3 separate regions of the Homo sapiens genome follow, and all the other regions are linked to region 1. The links are contacts of gene promoters, found by promoter capture Hi-C in blood cells and fetal thymus (Javierre and others, 2016). All regions are on one chromosome and are shown on one strand. The core of a region is centred on a gene start or on the middle of the fragment in contact, and the rest is flanking DNA. Distances in the headings are between cores, read along the strand shown. Region 1 holds the start of SPRY4 (sprouty RTK signaling antagonist 4). Region 2 overlaps LOC107986455 (a long non-coding RNA gene). Region 3 overlaps SPRY4-AS1 (SPRY4 antisense RNA 1).

Evidence for each region. The method cuts DNA at HindIII sites, captures the fragments that hold promoters and counts their contacts. A CHiCAGO score of 5 or more calls a contact.
Region 2: a contact is called between a fragment that was not itself captured here and the fragment with the promoter of SPRY4 in region 1, in 1 of 17 cell types (endothelial precursors). The highest score is 6.1, in endothelial precursors.
Region 3: a fragment that was not itself captured here is called in contact with the fragment with the promoter of SPRY4 in region 1 in 1 of 17 cell types (endothelial precursors); the score reaches 5.1 in endothelial precursors.

The regions. Positions count from the first base shown.
Region 1 is chr5:142,322,749-142,327,197 of GRCh38, reverse strand. SPRY4 (sprouty RTK signaling antagonist 4) reads left to right here and starts at 2,177. Exons shown (of 2, transcript NM_001127496.3): 1 at 2,177-2,354. It overlaps SPRY4-AS1 (SPRY4 antisense RNA 1), which reads right to left and starts at 1,905. Exons shown (of 4, transcript NR_120664.1): 1 at 1,828-1,905. RefSeq lists enhancers at 2,711-2,770, 2,252-3,214, 3,215-4,179. The HindIII fragment of the contact is 6,861 bases long and covers 1-4,449 here.
Region 2 is chr5:142,181,241-142,185,689 of GRCh38, reverse strand. All of the region lies in intron 1 of LOC107986455 (a long non-coding RNA gene), which reads left to right. Among named protein-coding and RNA genes, the nearest start is that of NDFIP1, 75 kb to the right of the region's middle. RefSeq lists enhancers at 1-489, 490-1,386, 4,347-4,449 and a silencer at 3,920-4,120. The HindIII fragment of the contact is 4,346 bases long and covers 1-4,222 here.
Region 3 is chr5:142,461,337-142,465,785 of GRCh38, reverse strand. SPRY4-AS1 (SPRY4 antisense RNA 1) reads right to left here. Exons shown (of 4, transcript NR_120664.1): 4 at 1,732-1,816. Among named protein-coding and RNA genes, the nearest start is that of SPRY4-AS1, 140 kb to the right of the region's middle. The HindIII fragment of the contact is 1,464 bases long and covers 1,472-2,935 here.

The sequences.
Region 1 (4,449 bases), core at 928-3,427:
TATGAAATGTAATCCTGTCTGTCTCCTGAGTTTCTCTAATAAAGAAAACAGGATAGCAACCCCCCTCCCCGCGGCTCCTCCAATCCTCCTTTTCTGCCATAGATTTAAGATTTATTTATTCCCATCCTTCTGACTGTTTCAGCAAGGGCCATGGGTGAGCACCAGCTGGAAAATTACTGCTTCAACTTTCATTGTTTAAAATGCTTAAATGACATGCGAGAAACAGGTTTTTAGGTCTGTGATGCTGAGAAGGGTTGGTAGCAAAGTAAAGCCAGGTTGCAAAGACCTAGAAAATAAGTGCTACAATTTACCAGCTCTTCCATATACCCGGTGCAGGACCCTTGGCCTCAGTTTCTACAGCTGACAGAGAGGGCGATACTGAACTTCAACAGCCTTAAAAGGAAGTCCTGGACAACTGTACCCATTTTTCTGGCGAAGAGTTCTCTTGGTCTTAGAGAAAGGTCTCGCCCCTGAAAGGAAGGCTGAGGTTCCCTAGGGGAGAGTCTGCTCTGCCCTCAGGAGCTGGGTAAGTACACGGAGGGGTGAGCCGAATGGTGAGAAGGCATTTTAGGCTAGGACTCGGTGACCTTGGGCTGCCTGCCTCTAGAGTCCCAGCCCCAGCCCTAGGCCAGACCTCAGCCCTGGGCTGGGAGCCTTTCATTGGTTCCTCTGACAACAGCCAAGCACAATCCTATAGTGGCGTAGGAAGAAAAAGACTGCCACACAATCTCCCCGTGCGGCCAGAACAGCGGCAAGACAGACCTTACAAGGGACTCAGGGCCAAGCCCTGGCCCAGACTCTGCTCTTATCCACGCATCAAAGCCACCCCCCGCCCCGGACTTCCCGGAGGCTACAGGCTCCTCCGTTCCAGGGAGGAGCAGGGCCTGCTGCGAGGGCTCCCCGCCTTCCTGGAGTCAGGCCTAATGGCGGGGGCTTTTCTTTTCACCGGCTTGAGCTGATCCTCACCCCCGCCCCCCAACGCCACCATCATTAACAGCGAAGAAAGGATCCCCAGCCATTTCCATTTCCTCTGCGGCTCAAGAGCCCCGTTGTTATTTAATCCTGAGGCCACCCCGGCAGCATCCTCGGCGCAGCCGGCTCCACCCATCCACCTGGCCAGTTCTCGGCCGCTCCCACTTCCCCGGAGGGGAGGCCGGTGAGAGGTGGGGGATATTGGGGAAAGGCGCCTACAACAGCGAAGGGCCGTGGGCCTTCGGTGGACCGAGGCTCCTCAGGCCAGCGTCCTGTGAGGGCTGGGAAACCGACTGGGACAGAGAAAGGACACCTAGCTAGGGCGACAGAGAGCGGGCAGACGCCCGGGCACTGCGGACATTGCACTGGGGCGGGGGGCGGGGGGAACGCTGGGAGGCGAGGGCCAGGCTTCCTCTGGCTGAGTTGCCAGAATCGCCCCGGGGGGTACTGGAGCCGGAAGAGGCCTGGGCCCAGTCACTGTCTACACCCAAGAAATGGGGGGAGGGGCGGCCAGCACTCACGAGAGATTCAGCCTCAGGAAAAAGAACCAGATTCACTCACCAATCCTCACCCCACCCTTTGATATGAATGATGGACATTTTCCTAATTTTTGGTAAACGCAGCTTCAAGACCCCTCCCGCCTGGCGTCTCTGGTCTAGAGCAAGAGAAGGCCCCCAGTAGGGGTCCTCCCGCCCCCCCTTTTGACTGCCTGCGGGGGGCAGAGATCCCCAGATCTAGGTGTGCCCTCCACCACCCTGCTCTCAACCCGGGATCCGGAGGCCGCAGCGTCCCCCACCCCCCAGCGACACTGACGGTTCCTGCCCAGGCCCGCAGTGGCGTGAAGGTGGCCTTTACCTCCTCTCGCAGGCTGGGAGGGGGTGCAGCCCGCGCAGCTGGCCCAGCTGCAGCAGTCGCCGCCGCCCTCCATTCATTAAAAAAAAAAAAAAAAAGGCAACAACAGCCTCCACTGGAACCTCCACCCCTCTTTGTAAAAGAACGACGGCTCCTGGTGGAGCTTGAGCCAGTCCCAGCAATCACGGGTTAAGATCTTTTCCCGCCCCCCATTCATAAAAAAAGGAGCGGAGCGCATGCGCGCTCAGGGTCTGTTGTGCCCACCCATTCATAGAATCGCGAACGGCACGCGTGCGCACTGGCGCTCCCTTCCCTCCCATTCATAAAAAAGCCATTTTCCCAGGCAGTGGTTGCAACATCGCCGCGGAGGTAGCGAGCTGAGCTGACAGCGCGGAGCTGGCGCTGTGGAGCGCAGGGAGCCTTGCCGGTTCCTCCGACCGGCGTCTGCGAGTACAGCGGCGGCTAACCTGCCCCGGCTTCAGGATTTACACAGACGTGGGGCGATGCTTGTGACCCTGCAGCTCCTCAAAGTAAGTCCATGGCTGGTTTGGAGATCTGAAACTGCCCCTCTCTGAGCCGCGACGCGACTCCCCCCTTGGGCTGGGGCAAATGGTGCGCTATTTCTAGGCGCGCCTCAGTGTTCCTTCCCTCAGCCTGCGCCTCCTTGAGTCGCTGCGGTGCGCCGCAGCTCCCTGACGCCCTCGGCCCGGCCGGCACGGCGCCGGGGGTGTTCACAGCCTGGCACCGCCGTTTCCGACCCCTGGGCATTGCCAAGCCCGGCTTCCCCGCCCTCTGAGACTCGGGAAGCCCCGTGCGTGTCCCGGGAGTTTGCCTCTGGCCTGGCCTCTTTCCTTCTCCTGCCACCATCCGCCTCGAACGCTGGAACGGGCGTCTCTGGGCTTGGTCAGGAGCCACCGTTTGGGTCGGGGGGCGCCCTCGCTCTGGGCGGCTCGCCCACCTCCCAGCTCGGTGCCCACGGTGCCAGCTTTGCCGTGTATCTCCCAGCCCGCCGTAGCGGCCTATGCTCGACGTAGATTTTTTCTTTCTCTTCGGAGCCGTGACGGACTGAATTCCCTCCCCTTCTGCCTCTCCCTCGATGGTCAGCGAGGGGCTGGCTCAGGACTGGGCATTCCTACTCCCTCTCCTTGGCGAGGCGGTTCCTCGCCGTCTGACCTTTGCTCCGCTGCCGCATTTTATGCTATGCAACTGCCTTGCAGTTGACTTTTTCTTGCCTGGCCTCTGTAAGGCCTGAGGCTCCTCGGCCACCCTGTACCTCCCTATCCTCGGGCACCGAGCTGTGCCAGGCCCCGGAGCCCCCAGGCCGCGCTAGGGCTGCGGTGGGGGTTGAAGGTGCGTTTACATAACACCAGGCGTGTGGGAGCTGGAGGAAGAGGTTGCGAATGTAGGAGAGATAAGGCTCCTGCTTTCCCTCCTTCCTTCTTGGTGGTACCAGGCTTGACATCACAGAGAAGAGGATAGAGACGGTATGTTCTGACAAATTCTGAATCGCCAAGACCCCGGGGACAGTGAGCTGGGTGAGGGCGGGTTTGGCTAGCCAGGGCAGCTAGAGCTTGGCTCCATCACTGGGTCCAGGGCTGTGCCCAGTTCCCCCTCCATGCAGACGATCAAAAAGCATTTAGACAGTAGCTGCTCTTGTGCAAGAAGACGGTTTCTCAATTCTCCTTGATTGGGGGCAGGGGGTTGTGGGCAGGAGAGGCAGGGGAGACAGAAAATGGTTGCGTGGCTTATAGGGCTGAAGGATGGGCAAGAGAGGCGAAATGGGCTGGAGGGGCTAGATGGTAGGCAGAGTAGGGAGCTGCTGGCTGCCTCTTTCACCAGCTGCTGGAGGGGCATCCATATTGCCAAGGCCTCTGTGAGGGCAGGAGGCCGCCTTCTGGCGCAGCAAGGCTTCCGTACCCCCCAGCGCGGTTAGTGCTGGAAAGAAGAGTGTACAGTGGGGTGCCCAAACCTAGTGGCATCCCCTTCTTTCCTGCCTCCAAATCAGTGGCGTGATTCTCTCCAGTTTTGGGAGAGGCCAGACACACTGGAGGCCAAAGAACTTGCAGAGGGGCGGGAGCAAGCACTCGTCTGTGTCTGTAGCTGACCGAGGCACTAACCTCCCTGACAAGTCTCTCGGGATTCAAAGCTGGAAGGTATAAGGCTCAGAGAAGTTGGGAACTGCGGGTTTATCAATCTCTTAATGAGCTCAGTCTGGCCTGAGGCCCTACCCAATATTGCACTGGTGGATTTCACAATGTTTGGAGTTCTCCAGATCTTCACACAAATGGAGCATAAACATCTCTGAAATTTTCAGCCTTTTTTTTTTTTTTTTTAGGGCGGGTGTCAGGAGAGCTAGGAGAGGCAGGGCTGCAGTTAAAGATTTCTCTTTCTCTCTCCCTCTCTGTCTCCCAGAAGGGTGGGAAAGAACTAGTGGAGATGTCCAGTGTGAAATCACATTTCCTCTTTCCCATCTCTTGGGAGGGTTCTCACGTGCTGCGAGGCTCCAGCAAATCCTAATGTGGTGAACAGCACACACACTTACCAACCACGCCATGTGGCCAGTACGGGTGTAGGGTGGGGATTTTAGTAGCAGATTTCTGAAATCTTCATGGACAAATATTGGTC
Region 2 (4,449 bases), core at 800-3,299, 140 kb after region 1:
AGAGTCCAGTCCAGATGGGTTTGGGCCCCAGACTTTGGAGAAAAGGCAGAAGTGAACACAGACTAACCATGTCCTCATCCAGCCTGGATGAAGGATGACCCAAAGGCTGGAGCTACGGTTCACCCCAATCCAAACAACTACTGTGGAGGGTGTGGGAGGCTGTGTTTTCCAGAGCTTGCAGTTCTTTATCTACCAAATCGGGCTTCTGTACCACCTCCCCTCTCCCTGACACACAAGAATCATCCCAGCACTTCTGGAAAAGTTTCCAAGGCAAAACTGCTGCCCTGAAGGCAGTCCCTTCAGGAACCAGGGTGATCAGGACAAAGCAATTTCAGGAGGCGGGAAGATCATAATCCACAAGACTTTGGTCAGGCTCAGTGGGAGCAAGCCAGCCCCAAAATGCGGTAATGATTACTAACAGACGATGCTCCCAACCTTACACGTGTTCCACATCCACAAACTGGAAAAAATTGTCAAATTAAATATGAAACAGGAAGTAGAGATAAAGACCCATGCACACACTGCGCACAAACTCACATACACTCTTCTCGTTAGCATGGGATGAAAGCCAGTGGTGACGATTTTTAATTAGAAAGGAGGACTCATAGCTGCCTCCCAAGGCCAAGGCACTCGGCTCTGAACACCAGGCCAGAGTTAACCCTTGCAGCTCCAGGGCGGTGCCTCATTATAAATGGCCCCACTCTACAAAAATTAGCTGGGCATGGTGGTGGGTGCCTGCAGTCCCAGCTACTTGGGAGGCTGCGGCAGGAGAATTGCTTGAACCCAGGAGGCAGAGGTTGCAGTGAGCCAAGGTTGTGCCACTGCACTCCAGTCTGGGCAACAGGGCAAGACTCTGTCTCAAAAAAATAAAAAAAAGATAAATGGCCCCTGCCGGGAGTGGTGGCTCACGCCTGTAATCCCAGCACTTTGGAAGGCCGAGGCGAATGGATCACCTGAGGCCAGGAGTTTGAGACCAGCCTGGCCAACATGGTGAAACCCCATCTCTACTAAAAATACAAAATCAGCGGGGCGTGGCGACGCATGCCTGTAATCCCAGCTACTCGGGAGGCTGAGGCAGGAGAATCACTTGAACCCGGGAGGTGGAGGTTGAAGTGACCTGAGATTGCGCCATTGCCCTCCAGCCTGGGCAGCAAGAGCGAAACTCTGCCTCAAAAAAAAAAAAAAAAGAAAAAAAGATAAACGGCCCCACTGCTAGAGGAAGCTCATCAAAGTTTTCTAACCTTGCTTGGTTAATTAAAGAATCATTAAGAAATGGGTGGAGGGGATAGGAGGAAGAAAGGAAGAGAAGAGAAGAGAAAAAATCAAGGGGAGAAGAGACTCTCGTGGCAGCATCAACCCCTCCACCAGGAGAGTGCTGGTGTGGAGGCCATGCCCTCTGAAGCCTGAGAGAGACAGGTTAGACTCCCAGCTTTTCTGTTCACCAACTATGTAACCATGGACTTACCCATCCTCTTGGTTTCAATTTTCCTTGTCTGTGAAATGGAAATGATAGCATGAACTTGACAAGATTGTTGTTAGGATTAAATGAGATATGTATGAAAAGCACCTATTTGCTTAGAACATTATAAATTCTCCAAAATGATGGCTACTACCTGGCCATTAAATTAGTTTCATTATTATTCTTTAGTCTTCTTCTGACCATGTTTGAGGAAAATCTTTCCTCTAAATAAATATAAGGGGATAAACTATCTCCTGTAGATACTGATTTCAAAGTGTGGGGATAGGGTAGGGAAAGTAAGTAGTTGCCTTTTCCTTGAACGGATTCGCCACTCCCCCCCACCACCATCACTGTGTCAGCTGAGAGTGAAATGTGACATCCTGGATGGACGAGTCCAGCAGTTGTCCTTTAGGGAAACCAGCCCACGCCCTACAGAAAAAGACAACCAGAGCTCTAAAACAGGAGCTAACGCCCCACCCCACCCGAACCCTTTCCCTGCCCATCACTCCTGAGTAGCATTTGACTCCAGCTTAAGTTGCTGCTTGAACGGCAGTTTACTGACAGCGATGCAGGTGCATGCATTTCCCCCTTCCTCTTACCAAGTCTATCTGAGAAAGAACAGGCAGGAGAAAGTGGGCTTGATTCTTTCTAAAACAAAAATGATCATTTTAGAGATAATCGTTATCATCCTGAAAGAGCTCTTCACATCTCAATGACCAGCTAATGCATAGAATATTGCTGGGCACATAGTAGGTGTGCATAAATACCTGTCGAGTGTCCAAATGGACAAAGTGACCCAGTCCCCACAGTGGCTACTCCTGAGGCACTCACATGTCAATAATAGAGACATACAGAAAGAACTCTCCCCCCAGACCCCGAACAAGTTTCCAGGTACAGGGTCATAGTACGCAGTTAAATTATGGCTTCCAATACATTTACAAAGTCAGTTTTGAAAAGAATTTGTTTCTCTCTTCCCTGTCAGCTTTATTCACCTACTCTTACTAAGACATTGGATCCAGTACCTGACACATAGCAGGTTTGTAATAAATAGGTGTGTAATAAAAAGTAATGAATGCATTACTGATGTCAAGAGCCACACTGCTGGCCTGATATAACCGTCAGAAAAATACGGCAGCAGAGCCCCAAGCAAGCCAGCCATGTGCATTTTCTTCCATTAGCGTCCTGTACCAGATAGTATCTTTCTAAATGGAATCATAAGACCTGACCTGGTATAGGAGTGCAGCACTGCTGGCTGACTCCAGTGACTCAAGCCGCATGGTTTAGAAAAGAACAGCCCACTTTTTATTAGTAGCAGTAGAAACAGTGCCAGTAATTGACATTTTGTGAGCATGTATTTGCCGGACTCCATGCTGGCTGATTTACATCTGATATATCTTTTAATTCTCACAACAATCTTATGAAGTAGGTTATATTATCCCCATTATACAGATAAATAAACTGTAGCTGAGAGAAGTGAAATGACTTGCCCAAGGCTGTGCAGCTAGTCTGTGTGCCTCCAGAGGGCTTTCTCATCACACCTCTGAGCTCTGACTCTCCAACCTGCCCCAGCTTTTCCCTGCATTCCAATCTCACCCAACAGTATCCATTCCTCCAACACCTCCAGACATCTGTTCAAGCATTTTCCTTGGTCTGGAAAGTCCTTCCTATCTTTGCCAACCATGGAAAGGCTCCCTATATTAGTCTATTTTCACACTGCTATAAAGAACTGCCCCAGACTGGGTTATTTATTTATTTATTTTTGAGATGGAGTCTCACTCTGTTGCCCAGGCTGGAGTGCAGTGGCGCAACCTTGGCTCACTGCAACCTCTGCTTCTCAGGTTCAAGCGATTATCCTGCCTCAGCCTCCTGAGTAGCTGGAATTACAGGCGGCCGCCACAACGCCCGGATAATTTTTGTATTTTTAGTAGAGATGGGGTTTCACCATGTTGGCCAGGCTGGTCTTGAACTCCTGACCCCAAGTGATCTGCTCACCTTGGCCTCCCAAAGTGCTGGGATTACAGGTGTGAGCCACTGTGCCTGGCCGGGACTGGGTAATTTATAAAGAAAAGATGTTTAATTGACTCACAGTTTTTCAGGTCTGGGGAGGCCTCAGGAAATTTAGAATCCTGGCAGAAGGAGAAGCAGTCACGTCTTACATGGAGCAGGCGAGAGAGCAAGTGTGTGAAGGAGACACTGTCAAACACTTGTAAAACCATCAGATCTCGTGAGAACTCACCCACCATCACGAGAATAGCATGAAAGAAACTGCCCCCGTGATTCAATCACCTCCTTCCCTTGTCACATGGGGATTAGAGGTCCCTCTCTCACTTAACATGTGGGATTACAATTCAAGATGAGATTTGGGTGGGGACACAGAGCCAAACCATATCACTCCCCTTATCTTTCAAGGCTTTGCCTAAAGTCTGCTCCCCTCTAAAGACTTCCCCAGCCCTCCTCACAGCCTGAGGCAGAACCGCTGCTCCCATTCTTGGCCTGTAGTTCAGAGCATCAGGGCACAAACTCACTGTGCTTGCAGGGAAGAGTCAGGATCAGTTCACCTTTGCACCTCCAGCACCTAGCACAGTCAGCTACCTGCCACTCGGCAGAAATTCAATAAATGTCTTATAATTAAGTAAAATCAAGCATATCATTCCCAGAATAACAAAATAGAGAGCAAACCTTCCAACCCCAGGACATTCTGGTCCCGTCTGCTCCCTAAGAAGTAGCTGACTGCTCTGGTTGAGAGGGGAGCAGAAAGAAGCTTAGAATTAGGCTGAGAGCCCCGCAAGCAGCCCTGGCAGGGGTCCAGCTCAGGGAGAGCCAGGTGGGGCTCCTACAGCAGCCTTTGTGATAGTGAGGAGCTAGGCAAGCTCAGCTGGGTAAAGGCCATTTGGTTCTGGGCGGTCATGGCCCTGAGCCTGCAGACAAGGCCTGCAGCACCAGCCCTGCACGCCCTGCGGTCCCTTTGGGTCACCCACACTCACTGGCCG
Region 3 (4,449 bases), core at 954-3,453, 140 kb before region 1:
CTTTCTCTAAGTGGGTATGTACCTGGAGGTCCAGGGAGGAAGGACAGCACATAGTAAGCAAGAGGCAAATTCTTCTTCCCCTTGCTGCCTCAATGCCTTGTATGAGGCTGTTGCTCAATAAAACCTTTTTGACTAAACATTACAGACCCAGTCACCAATAACCAACCTCTCTCTCAAACATGCAGCTAGTAAACAGCATTTTTTTTTTTTTTTTTTTTTTTTTACAGCATCTCACTCTGTCACCCAGGCTGGAGCTCAGTGCTGAGATCTCAGCTCACTGCAACCTCTGCCTCCTGGGTTCTAGCAATTCTCATGCCTCAGCCTCCTGAGTAACTGGGATTACAGGCGCATGCCACCATGCCTGGCTAATTTTTGTATTTTTAGTAGAGACGGGTTTTCACTATGTTGGCCAGGCTGATCTCGAACTTCTGACCTCAGGTGATCCACCCACCTTGGCCTCCCAAAGTGCTGGGATTAAGATGTGAGCCACCACGCCGGGCCTGCTTTTCTTTTTACAAGGCATGTATCTCTTCCAATAATTCCCTGAGTGGATTACTTTCACCTCCTACAGCAGTTTGTCTCTCCTTCCGTTTCTTTGCTTGACACTACCTTCTCATTTCTTTCTATTCTCTATTTTGCCCTTTCCTTTTTTGCTCAAAACTTTTCTTTACTTCTTGATTCCACATTACCTATGGGCACTTAAGAATCTACACATTGTTGGCCGGGCACGGTGGCTCACGCCTATAATCCCAGCACTTTGGGAGGCCGAGGCGGGCAGATCACGAGGTCAGGAGATCGCAAACATCCTGACTAACATGGTGAAACCCCGTCTCTACTAAAAATACAAAAAATTAGCCGAGCGTGGTGGTGGGCGCCTGTAGTTCCAGCTACTCAGGAGGCTGAGGCAGGAGAATGGCATGAACCTGGGAGGTGGAGCTTGCAGTGAGCCGAGATTGCACCACTGCACTCCAGCCTGGGCGACAGAGCGAGACTCCATCTCAAAAAAAAAAAAGAATCTACACGTTGTTCACTTCTCCATCCTTTAACTTCTACTGAAACCCTGAATCACCTATCCGTCGTCACCCATCCTCTAACCTATCCTCACACATAGTTCGACTGCATTAAAAACAGCTATTTTTTTTTACACCCTGTCCCCAAGCAAACATGCATACACACACACACACACACCCGCTAAAATCAATTTCTCACAACTGAGTTATCAACATCTTTACGAGAGCCAAGGGATATTTCTTCCTAGAATCAGATCTCGCAGCCACCCAAGATATTTTTACATGGTTCAGGATGGTAGTGGAAAGTAAATCTAATTGTCCATTTCTTGGCAATGCCTTGTAGGACATGATCAGTTATTTAAACTTCCTGTGACTAAATTCCCCCTATTTCTGTGACAGATTAATGCCATTTGCCAGCATATAATGTTAGCCAAGTTCTGGTAACACACAGAGGGAAAGCTTCACGTAAACCTTAAGCAAAGTTATTACTCTCTGGAATCCAGTATGTAATTGGCACTCCTTAAGAATTACAATTATTATTTTTATATTCCTTTTAGAGTGTCTTAGGAACTTACAGGTCTTCAGAGAAAAAGCTGTGGGATTTTGGATGAGAGTCACAAAATCATTTGCTCTCTAGTCCAAGTGAAATCTTTTGTTAGAACTTTGGACTGGGAAGGTGGAAAGTTAATTCAGGATATAAAATAAACAAGTGATACCTTGAATCTATGCAGCCTCCCATTGCAAAAATCGGCAACTGCTCCCACGTAGCACTTAAACCTCAGTGCCTTCTTTTACTGGAAGTTGTTCTGAAGAAAGGAATACAAATAAAGAAAAATTTAAAGAAAATGTATGATGGGTACAAATTCTAGGCTTCCTTTCTTATTCCCATTGTTAATATAACTCTATTTAGACAAGTTCCCTACTTTCTTATTCAACTTCAAAACTGTAATTACTTACAGAACTGAAAAAAAAAAATCTACCTTTCCCAGCGTCACTTCTTTACTCTCTTTGGAAACAAGTCTGTGTACCTTCTCAGACACCCTCCGCTGCTTCCTTCTTCCTTTCTCTCTAGGCCAGGATCCCATCTGTCCTGGTTGCCCCTCTACCCCTAATGGTCTGAGGTCCAGCTTCCTGAGAGGCCACTGAGAGGATGGGTGATACAACCCTGAGCCCCCAAAGAGTGCTTTACCAATGAGAAACAGGAGCAGGGGCAGAGTGGGAAAGAGCTGGATTCCTGTTTCCTTCTTTCTCCCGCTATGCTAAGGCCGGATTCCTCCAGTAAATTGTCTGGAAGAGCCCTGCATGCTGAGTGACCTGCTTGATCCTTCATGGCTTATTTGGAAATGATAGCCAGCAGAAAAAAAAGAAAATGAAAGAAATTCATGTATCCCGTTGTCTCTCCCTGTGCCCCACACACCCTCACCCTGCGATTTCACCTCCCAGATGAAGTTTTAGCACCAGGGTCCTTGCCTCCGACTCTGCTTTCTGGAGGACCAAAGCTAAGATGTTTATTTTCTCTAGACCAGCATTTTTCAAGGCGTGATCTGCAGACCACCTGCATCAGAATCCTCTGGGGTTCCTGCTAAAAAGGCAGATTTCCAGGTCTACTTTAGAGATTCAGATTCGGTAGGCCTGCGGTGGATCCTAGGAATCTGCATTAACAATCTCCAAAGTTGACTCCTAAACACTATAGAACATGAGAACCACTGGTCCAAATTCCTCCAGTGTCTCCCAAGCTCTGCGAATAGGACTCTGTGGTCACCCAGGCTAGAACTGCAGCACGTGCCCCTTTATCCCTCATTCTTGCTGGGTCCTACTGATATTTACCAATGTAATATCACCAGCTTCTGCACCTGCTCTCTGTTCTCCAATCCCACTGTCCCCATTTGGGCTTATCTCCTATTACCTGGACTATCATCAAAGCTTCCTAAATAGGCTCCCCAGTTACCTTCCAAAACAACACTAAAATCAGGGATAAGGCTGCGAATTTCCTAGAGCATCTAGAAAAGCACAGTACAAGAAGCGGGTATGCAACTTATCAGAGAGATGTATGAAGTCCCTGAGGTGATGTGCCTTCAGCTGGATACAGTCAGGCCTGTGCTAGATTTGTGATCCTGCCCATTTGCTGTGTTTAGTTCTTATATCATTACTACACTTGTTTTACTGATCATGACAACATGTATGGTCAACTCCATGTGAGGAGAGGTCAGCTCATCTATATCTGTGCAATCCTATATATCTAATGGGGCACACTGCACACAATGGGTGCTTTACACAGGCTACTGACAGTCAAGATAACAGGGATATAAAATTCATTTTCTTTTTTTTCCTCCCTTTCAACCTTCCCAGACCCATGTCACTCAATCTCGCTTCTGAATTGATAAACACTTCTAACATAGCTTGAAAACTCTCCTAGGCTCTCTTCTGCAAGATTTTGGTCAAAATCCATTTAAGTGCACCTGTGTTCTGTTTATTTCCTTCTTCACTGTCTATTCTGACATGAGAAACTGAATGTTCTTCCTTATAAGGACACAAATTATATTGCTTAACTGTGATAATTATAACTAACATTTAATAAGCACTTACCATGATCTAAGCCCTTTCCAGGCATTTCTTCATTTAGTCTTTTTTTTTTTAAGACAGGGCCTCACCATCACCCAGGCTGCAGTGCAGTGGTGTGATCATAGCTCACTGCAGCCTCAACCTCCTGAACTCAGATGATTCTCCCACCTGAGCCTCCCAAGTAGCTGGGACCAGAGGCACATGACACTGTGCCAGGTCAATTTTTTTATTTTTTGTAGAGACAAGGTCTTTTATGTTGCCCAGGCTAGTCTTGAACTCCTGGGCTCAAGCCATCCTCCTGTCTCAGCCTCCCAAAGTGCTGGGATTATAGGTGTGAGTCAGTGCACCTGGCCTCATTTAGTCCTTTTGAAAGCCCTAACAGGTAGGTACTTGTATTGGCCCAAGATGAGATTTGGGTGGGGACACAGCCAAACCATATCAGTACTATTTTTATCCACCTTTACAGATAAGGAAACTGAGGCTTGGAGAAATTATAACTAGCCTTCAGAAAGTCCTGGAGGTTGTCTGATTACAAGGTCTAGGATTATAACCATTCTGGTACCTTCTTTCCTCACTGCCTGATGATGCACAGTGATTTTCCACAGTGTAGCTACCAAATATGAATTTCTCAAGCTGAACAACTGTCCACATTCATGGCTGACAGAAGTCACCCCACAATGAGAGCAGGTTACTAGCCTCACAGTCTTGGTCCTCTGCCTACTCTCAACCAACCTTCTGGTTTTTGCAGATCTACCTGTGCCGTCCCACTTGCCATATGGTTCTGTCATTTCATTTGACAGAATGACATTTCATTTCTAGATAATATATGCAGTCTTCATATTTGACGTGTCTTGCAAGTATTCATGCCATATCAAGC